Regions from separate parts of the Homo sapiens genome. Here region 2 is linked to region 1. The links are contacts of gene promoters, found by promoter capture Hi-C in blood cells and fetal thymus (Javierre and others, 2016). All regions are on one chromosome and are shown on one strand. Each heading gives the region's core, a stretch centred on a gene start or on the middle of the fragment in contact. The rest is flanking DNA. Distances are from core to core; before and after follow the strand shown. Region 1 holds the start of ACTR3B (actin related protein 3B). Region 2 has its middle 10 kb from the start of TRC-GCA9-3.

The links. Contacts are between HindIII fragments. The CHiCAGO score rates a contact against its expected background, and 5 or more counts as called.
Region 2: a contact is called between a fragment that was not itself captured here and the fragment with the promoter of ACTR3B in region 1, in 1 of 17 cell types (monocytes). The highest score is 9.1, in monocytes.

Annotation. Positions count from the first base shown.
Region 1 is chr7:152,757,525-152,762,179 of GRCh38, forward strand. ACTR3B (actin related protein 3B) reads left to right here and starts at 2,228. Exons shown (of 12, transcript NM_020445.6): 1 at 2,228-2,402. The coding sequence starts at 2,359. It also overlaps the pseudogene RN7SL845P. RefSeq lists enhancers at 1,870-2,029, 3,030-3,079 and silencers at 2,280-2,799, 2,560-2,854. The HindIII fragment of the contact is 7,028 bases long and covers 1-3,307 here.
Region 2 is chr7:149,623,204-149,627,858 of GRCh38, forward strand. It overlaps the pseudogene ZNF767P. Among named protein-coding and RNA genes, the nearest start is that of TRC-GCA9-3, 10 kb to the right of the region's middle. RefSeq lists silencers at 1,075-1,174, 1,195-1,944. The HindIII fragment of the contact is 2,539 bases long and covers 619-3,157 here.

The DNA.
Region 1 (4,655 bases), core at 978-3,477:
ACACAAAGCCTGACTCACAGTAGGCGCTTGATATATGTTTGTTAAGTGAATAAAATAAAAGACATGGCAGTGTCAACAGTCTGTAATTTAGAATTAATCTATGTTTAGGCTAGGGCCGTGAAAAAAATGGGAGCTGGGCTGGGAGCAGTTGTACTTGCCTGTAGTCCCAGATACTCGGGAGGCTGAGGTGGAAGGGTCCCTTGAGCCCAGGAGTTCTGTGCCACCCAGAATGATGGATCTGCACTAAGTTTGGCATCAATATGGCACCCTCCCAGGAGCGGGGAACCACCAGGTTGCCTAAGGAAGGGTGAACTGGCCCAGGTCAGAGATGGAGCCGATCAGAACTCTCATGCAGATCAGTAGTGGGACCATGCCTGTGAATAGTCGCTGCCCTCCAGCCTGGGCAACATAGTGAGACCCTGTCTCTAAGAAACAAGCAATAAGAAAAGAAAAAGAAAAGGGACCAAGGCAGGGCTTTGGCAAAACACAAAGCAAGCCAGCCAATCTTTAACCCCAGCCTTGGGCTTCTAAACTGGGATTCCTCCACACTTACTCCTTTTTATTTTCCTCCCATTTGCTTCTCTCTTCAGTTCTCCTGAACATTCTCTAGGTCTGGGCCTTAATGGGTACTTATGAGTTAAAAAAAAGAAATGATGATGGGTTACCTAGGAGTGGTCAACGTATCTATTACTTCTAGGTAAAAAACACAATGTTTTAAGTACCTGTAAAAACAACATGTCTTGGCTGGGCGTGGTGGCTCATGCCTGTAATCCCAGTACTTTGGGAGGCTGAGGCAGGCAGATCACGAGGTCAGGAGCTCAAGACCAGTCTGGCCAGCATGATGAAACCCTGTCTCTACTAAAAATACAAAAAATTAACCGGGCATGGTAGTGGGTGCCTGTAATCCCAGCTACTTGGGAGGCTGAGGCAGGAGAATTGCTTGAACCTGGGAGGCGGAGTTGCAGTGAGCCGAGATTGCGCCACTGCACTCCAGCCTGGGCGACAGAGTGAGACTCATCTCAAAAAACAAAACAAAACAAAAAAATACATGTTTCCAGAAAGCTCCTAAAAAATTAGTATCAAGAATTTACGATCGGGCAAGAAGCAGGAAGCAAGTGGCAAGTGGGACTCTCAGTACCTTTATAATATAGTAGGTGGTGTTTGCCTTCTTTGGTTTCAGTAAGAACTTTTGGGCGATCATCCCATCTTCGACACTTGAAAACATTTTCCAGGAGTGATCTTGGTGTGGTTTACTCAGTCTAAGGCCATTCATTCCTTAAGGCTGGCCAAGCATTTGTTTTGCAGATTTTTCTTCTTAGAAAAATTTAGGCCGTGTTAGGTATAATAATTCCAACTAATTTTTTTTGTTGTTTTTTTGAGACAGACTCTCGCCCTGTTGTCCAGGCTGGAGTGCAATGGCGCGATCTTGGCTCACTGCAACCTCCGCCTCCCAGGTTCAAGCGATTCTCCTGCCTCAGCCTCCGGAGCAGCTGGGATTACAGGCACCCGCCACCACGCCCGGCTAATTTTTGTATTTTCAGTAGAGAAGGGGTTTCACCATGTTGGCCAGGCTGGTCTGGAACTCCTGACCTTGTGATCCACCCTCAGCCTCCCAAAGTGCTGGGATTACAGGCGTGAGCCACCGCGCCCGGCCAATTCCAACTAATTTTTTTTTTTTTTTTTATTATATGGGGAAGGTTACTCAGTCATTCAACAAACATTTGGGCACTTCCACAGGTACACCAAATACTGTGCTAAGCACCTGCTGCTCATCAATAGTGATTAAGACAGACTCAAGCCCTATCCTAGAAGATTTGATAGTCCAGTAGGGGAGGCAGACAACAAATACATAAATATAAAAATATAAACACTTTGCTTTAAGGGTTAGGAATGAAACCAACAGATTGTTGAGACAGAGGATACAGTACCGGTAGGGGACATAGTCAGGGTGATCAGGAACAACTTCCCTCGCAAGGTGACATTCGAGCGAAGACTTACAGGAGGAGAAAGGCGCCAGGCCTCGGAAATGGGGTCACGTTCATGTAAGTCAGTTAAAAATAAACCCCAATCTCTCCAGCAGCAAGGTTGGACGTATGGGGCCAAGAAGCCTCGCTGCCAGCACTAAAGATGGCGCGCCGGAGTGGGGGTGGGGGTGTTGGGGGAGGCGGGGCGTGCGCGCGTTCTGATTGGCCGACCGGGGAGTGACGTCACGTGTCGGCCGCCGAGCATCCGGGCTCCCGGCAGCGGCGCTGCGGCGGCTCGCGGGAGACGCTGCGCGCGGGGCTAGCGGGCGGCGGAGCGGACGGCGACGGGGCGCTCTCGGGCTGCCGGCGGGGCCGAGCGCCGCGCGTCCCGAGCATGGCAGGCTCCCTGCCTCCCTGCGTGGTGGACTGTGGCACCGGGTAAGAGCAGCTCGGCGCCCACCCCCGCTCCTCCGCGGCCCCGCTCCCGGCCCCTGGCGTCCACCTCGCCTGGAGGTCGAGCTGCGTCCGTCGCCCCGGGCTTGAGCCCCGCGATCACCTGGGCAGGTGGGGCGCCGGCCGCCGCTTCCCTCCAAGCCTTGCCTTGACGTCGTAAAACCCCCTCTTCCCTGCCGGGAAGGGCCACAAGAGGAAAAGCACGGAGGGTAGGGACGCGGTGCCCACTCTGAGCGAGCCCGGCGCTCCTCGCCTCCCCCGCCCACGTGGCCGGGCCCCTGGACCCGCAGCCCGGCTCCGGCCGTCGCCGGGGTGGACACCCTGAGGGACACCGGGAGCGCGGGATCTCCCCTCCTAGGAATATTCGCCAGCGTGAGGCACAGATCATCACTGCAGATCCTTTAACGTCACTCATCTCCTAGTGAACGGTGTCCCTGCCTTCCAGCGTTCTCAGCACTGGCCCTCGTTCTGTCCCCGCGTGTGCGTGTCATTCCTCCTGGCTGAGGATTCTTTACCACCTACTTGTGGAGAGAATAGCATCGATCTCCCAACTTGATACCATTTTTACTGCCCTCCCTGCGCTTTTCCAGTATGAAATGGCACACTCAGGCCAAGCTGTCCCTTTGGTTTGCATAGATTTGCCTTTTCGCTGAAAAATGATGTGTTTAAAAAGACTCCATTTTGAAAAATACCCTAAATTTGGGAGAGCATGTTTGTGGAATTGTGGTAGAGGTTTTTGTTTTTAACTTTTTGAGTGTGACCACTTCTTTCGTTGCCGTTAAGCTATTAAAAAGAGATCTTAGGAAATGCCCTGAAGTATCGGTGACCCAAGTTAGCTGGTTGTAGTAAGGTGATTGCTGAATCCATGTAGCTGGTAGTTTGGGAATACAAGCTTGCCTGCCTGCGTTATGGGTGTAGTGCTTAGTAAAATAGCCTGGAAGTAAATTTGGTCTCTTAGCGATTTTTTTCAAGAAGGGATTTTAATCATTTTTGCCACAAAATGTAACATGGCATGTTCACCTTACCCTTGATTCTTTTCTATAGAAAAATGCACTTGGTTTGGTTTCCTTGACAACCTTGTGGGGGTGCCTTCTTTAGTTTGCTACAGTCCATCTCCTACTGTTAGTTCCTTCCTTTTGCTGCTGAAGCGACCAGAAGTGGTTGTGGACTGGAAAAATCCTCTTTGCTTGTGTGAATTCTTTTTGAAATACACGTCATATCAAGCTTTGTAGCTCTTTATTTTAGAACTTGCTTTTCTACCTAAAACACAAGCCAAAATCAGCGTTGTCGATACTACAGCTCCCCTCCCTCAATTATTGACACCCTTAACTCATGCCCTCCCCCAATGGGTTCACCTCAGGTCCCCTCAGGTCTGGTTGTGTCAAGAGTGAAACCAGTGGGTGAAAGTATTTTTCATTTCCACATTTGCATGTGAGATTTTTGCTTTGTAGTTTTAGTCTTGCAGAACTATTAAAATATAAAGGAATTCTTGGTAGTAGCAATAAAATAATGCTCACAGAGTTGTCATACCTTTAAGATTAGTAAGTCGTGGACCTTACTCATCTTTCTTGCTATAAATACCTAAAATGTCGTGCTCAGTTTTGACCTTTTGAGGTAAGTGATTAATGTAACTTGGCTAACTTGGAGATTCAACTTCTATAGATCATTGTTTTGTGGCCCAAAGTCATGCTTCAGAAGTTGGTGTCAAGACTTAGAAACGGTGGCAGGGAATCTCCATATGAATTCCCCATATCGAGTGTATGGCCAGAAGGAGCCTGAAAGAGCCCGAATTTACCAACTTGAGCACATCAGTAGTTCTTACATTTCCCAGAGAGCCAAAATGATTTTTGGATTTAGTTTTGCCTCAAAATAGGACAAAAAGTGGTAAAATTCAGATAAAAATAACCAAGCCAAAGGAAAAGAACGGACCTAGGAAGTCACCCTGAGCTTTAGCCCAGTGGCTGCTGAAGTTGGTCCGCACATTCGACCTTAGTCTTCCTGTCTGACAACATCATAAGAGTCATGGTTATGTAATTCCTGTCATCAGAAATCAAGAGAAATACCTGTTTCTTGGGTGAAAAAAGCCTTTTTTTGTAGTACTAAATTGTAAAAGCATTGAGCTATACATAGTGGGCACTAATGATTTATTGGACAGTGTGATAAACAGTATTTTTTACAAATAAATTTCATCCCAGTATCCTTGAATCCTCCTCAGGTAAACCCCGAGACTACCTGAGT
Region 2 (4,655 bases), core at 638-3,137, 3.1 Mb before region 1:
CATGAAAGGGACCTCTGCATAAACTACTTTATTAAGAAAATATTAGTCTTTTACTCATGGATAATAAAGTACATGGTTTTCTCACAATTCTGATGGGGCCAGGAAACCCTGTGTAAGGCCTTCACACTATGTGGTGGGAGGTGTCGACTGTGCGCTGCTCACTCCAGCCCAGCTTCTTACTGACAAGTGGCTGGAATATGTGGGGCTGTCCTTGGACTCCTGCCAGGAAGCCGAAACTCTTTGCTTGAGAGGAGCTGATGGTAAGAGGAGCCCGATCCCTCACTGGCCGCCCACCCGCAGGATGAAGTCCTGGCATGCAAGCCCCTTCCTAGTCTCTCTCTGCAGACTCCTTTCCCACTGCCTCCAAACCAAAACCATCTTCTCCAGGCTCATGGACTCCTTTCTGTGCCTGCACACGCCCTGCACTGTCCCGTCTCTCTGCGCCTTTGCCCAGGCACTCCTCCCTCCCTGAAAGCACCACCGGTCTAGCTGGGCCTGAAATCCTAGCCGTCCCTAAAAGCCCGGCTCAAATCACAGAGGCGCAGAGCATCAGGCCAGGAGGGGTGGACAGCGGTACCAAGAGGCCCCCTGACACTCCTTCCCCCGGAGCCCACCGCAAGCTTCCACCTGGGCGCCAACACTCACCCCTTCCTATTTTGCACAATTATTGCCCGCGTACCTGCCTGCCTGGTCCTTGAACACACAGCCACTGTGTGTCTTTTCACACTTCCAGGTGTGCAAGCCTGGGCAAGTTAACTTCTCTAAGCCCCAGGTTTTTCTTTTGCATGACAGAGATAACACCAGTACCCATCCCACAGGCTTGCTGTGAGGACAGAAGGACAGACTAAGGCCTCAACAGGACTTGGTGCAGTACCTGGCTCTATATTCCCTTCCGCGCCGACCCTGGGGAGCTGGGCACGTAAGGGGTGTCGGTATACGCGGATTCGAAGCCTCACAACTCCCAGGTACCACTAAGCCGCTGGGGGGAGCTGGGGGAGGGACCCACAGGCCGAGCGCCAAGCAGAGAAAAGAGCCTCGGGTGGGGGGACGCAGATGTAGGGTTCAGCGGCTGGGGCGGGGGCAGGAAGCCCCGGAGGGGCCAAGGATCTTGGCGTGGGGCGGCCCGGGGCGGGGACAACCGTTCCGCCAGCGCTCGGGCTCGGCCCGGAGTGGGGGGCCCGGCTGGCAAGCGCAGTAGGCCCCGGCAGACGCCGCGGCCCTGTTCCCCGGAGCCCCAGGCGCGGTAGTACGGCTCGGCTCCCGCAGCCCCCGTGTGCCGGGCCCGGGTCGCCCGGGGAATCCAGGCCGCGAGTTCGTGCGCGCGCTGGTCGCCCTTACCGGAGCTGCGGCCGCCTCCTCCATGGCCCTGCGCTGTCCCCCGCGGCCCAGATAAAGTCGTCGCCGCTGCTGCGCGCGGCCCCACGCAGGGCCCGCCTCCCGGTGCTCTCCGCAGGCGGCGCCCGCCCAGCCCTGTCTCTGCCGCCGCTGCTCCCTGACTGCCCCTGCCCTGCGCCGCCCGCAGTTGCGTCAACGCCTTTAGCGCCCGGCCGGTCCGCACTGTATCCTGGGAGCCGGCGCGGCCGACGAAGGCACATGAGGCTTCCTGGAGGCAGGCAGCCGCACAGCCCCACCTGCAGCTCCGGAGGCGAACTGCAGGCGCGACCCCGCCTGGCCCGCGCCCGGGAGCTGACCCCGCGACCCCTGGCCGACCCCTCGCCCCTTCCCCGACTGCCGCGTGTGCGCGCGCAGTCACTGCGCTGGCCCCGCGACCCAGGCCGAGGGACTCGGTTACCGAAAGAGTCCCCCTCATAAGACCCGCCTGGCCGCGCCCGCGGGCAAGCAGGGGCTTCCAGGCAGGGCCCTCCCCGGTGACCGCGGGCAGTGTGGCCCCCTCGCCCAGCTGGGCCCCGGCGCGGCCGAACAGGCACTTCTGCCGCCCGAGGTCCTGGGCCTGGAGGTTTGGGCTGTTTTCGGGGGGCAGCTGTAACTCATCCCCATCTGTGTTTGAAGTGGAATAAATACTTCGAACAATAGGAATATACCGGTAGATGCTACTTAGCATTTTCTACCATGTGTTTATTACAGTAAATATTTTTTAATGGCATGAGCAATGGAACGCAATACCATCATTGAACATTATTTTGGGGAAGAAATTGGTATGGACAGATGTTCATGATATTTTAAGAGAAAAAGCCTGTCCAGAACGATCCTGTCTTTGTTTTAAAATTAACACTTTAAAACAATATATGACATCATATGTAGTATTATATACCGTGTATATGTGTATCTATAGTTTTGAAAGTTTGGAAGCATACAAATGTCAACATAGACTAAGTAGTTTTCTTTAATAGAGCACAGGCCGTTTTTACGCATTTTATTTTCCCAATTCATGTTTTTATTTTTCAATAACAAGGATAGTATTTTTAAACGAGAGAAAAATAAACATTTAAAAGTCCTTAAGAGGCTGAGGATGGAGGGCGCCTTGGACGGGGGCCCCCACGTGGTTACAGAGGCGCATTGCCTTTCAGATTCCTGGGCTGAGTGGGGCTCTTTCCAGCTGGGGAACCTGCGACATGTGATGTGGGGTCTATGGGGCTTGCCAGGCCTAGGGACCGGGATCTGAACATTCTCCCCTAGTTTCTCTTCATCAGCGTGGGCTGTACGTTCAGTGTATAAAAATGGAATTGCCCCAGGAGTCGTGTGGGCGAAGACCTTACTCATAGTGTTGCCGATGCTCCTGCGTCCGACTTGCTTCTTTGGGTCGCAGGCACAACCTAGCTATTCTCTGATGCCTCTCATCTCTGGGCGATTGTCCCTCAAATGAGGGGGTTTAGAGATTTCCTGCCTGGAGCCTTTGGCATCATTTTGTCTTTTGGAGTAAATCCGACAAAGGGTAAAATCACCCTACTCACCCCGTGAGCTGTAGGAGAATGTCCCTGGACCTGCCCCAGGTTTTTCCTGTTTTTTTTTTTTTTTCCCTTCAGCTCTTCCACGTGATTCCTTCCCCTCTCAAGTAACACATCTCCTCTCCTAGGGGTGGACTCGTGTTTTATGGGTCTGCAGCTTGTGTAATCAGGAAGAACATTATTAAGTAAAAGCCTCATAAAATTACAAATTTAGAAGGAGGCACAGAGCTGGTGCAGGAAAGGCACTCTGAAGCTTCCTTAGCTTCACTGTAATGTCCTGGATTAAAAAAAAAAAAAAGCCAGCCTTGTCTAGGCTGGGACATGTGCACCACGGAGATTGTAGGGGGAACTGGGAATCAGGAGACCTGTCAGTTCTGTCATTAACCAGTCGAGACCCTTGGGCAAGTCAGTCAGCCCTTGCCTCACATGTAAAGTGAGGAGATTGGAGTAGATCATTCTGCAAATGTCCCTGAGTCCAGCCTTCCTTTCACCACTTGATACGGGACCCAGTAGAAGACCACCGCTTCCTCTCTCACTGTGGCCTTTTTGCGGGTCACCCTGCATGATAATTTACCTCTATTATCAAGACAACAATGTGTTGGCAAGTCCCTGCCATGTTGCCTGGAAGAGCTACTCCCGGATTACCTTGGAAAAGGGCCTTATTCCTGTTTGAGGAGACAGAGGTGTCATCTCCATGGCAATATGGCCCCTAGGGGAACTAGTGCTTTCATGGTGTGTCCCATGGTGTGTGCTGGAGGATGTGAGCAGTGGGGCAAAGTGCGGTCTGGACTTAAGTGACCATCTGTGTGTCCCTTGAAGGAATTTAACATCATAGAAATCACTGTGGAATTCAGTGTTTCCCAGGTCCTCGGACCAGAAGTGGAGAGGAGTGGCTGGCTTTGCTGCCTTCTGAGAAGGCTGCCAGGGCTACAAGGCAAAAGGCCTGTGGGTAAAGGAGAAAATTCCAGTAGAAGGAAAAGACAGTTCACAGGAAGGGACAGTTTACCAGCTCCTGTGACAAGAGAAGAGGCGGGGCCTTGGCACAGCTGAGGAGGTGAAAACGAGCTTACCCAAGTGTTACTCCACGTGTTCCTTCTAAGAGGGACAGGGCTCTGCTTGCCATCGGAAAGGTCACGTGGGAGGCTGGACGCAGTGGCTCATCCCAGAGCTTTGGGAGGCCAAGGCAGGAGGATCGCTTGAGGCCCCGAGTTTCAGACCAGCCTGGGCAACATAGTGAGACGTCTGCTCTACAAAAAAATAAAAATAAAAAGTATTAACTGGGTATGGTGGCACACACCTGTGGTCCCAGTTAGTTGAGAGGCTGAGGCGGGAGGCTTGCTTGAGCCCAAGAGTTGGAGGCTGCAGTGAGCTATAATTGTTTCACTGCACTCCAGCCTGGGTAACAGTAGAATACCCTGCCGCTTAAAAAACAATGAAAGAGTCAAGTGGGGTTGTTCTCCTGCAACATTTTTTGGTCCTTGAAACTAGGTTAACATTGGTCCTTTTAAGGCTTTTGGGGATTCCAAAATCTACTCAGCTACCACCTTCTCACTATTTCTTGGAGTTGCTTCTTCTCCATCATTCTCCATGTATATTAACTGAAGAAGTAGAGCTGGAAGAATCATCTTTTGTCGTAGATTGCAGTTGTGTTGAAAGTGCCCTGAATGGAATACTGGGCCAGGAGAGCCAGACGCAACTCTGTCATTAAGTGTGTTAGAAAAGACACCTCAGTCACATGGAGTTTCTTTT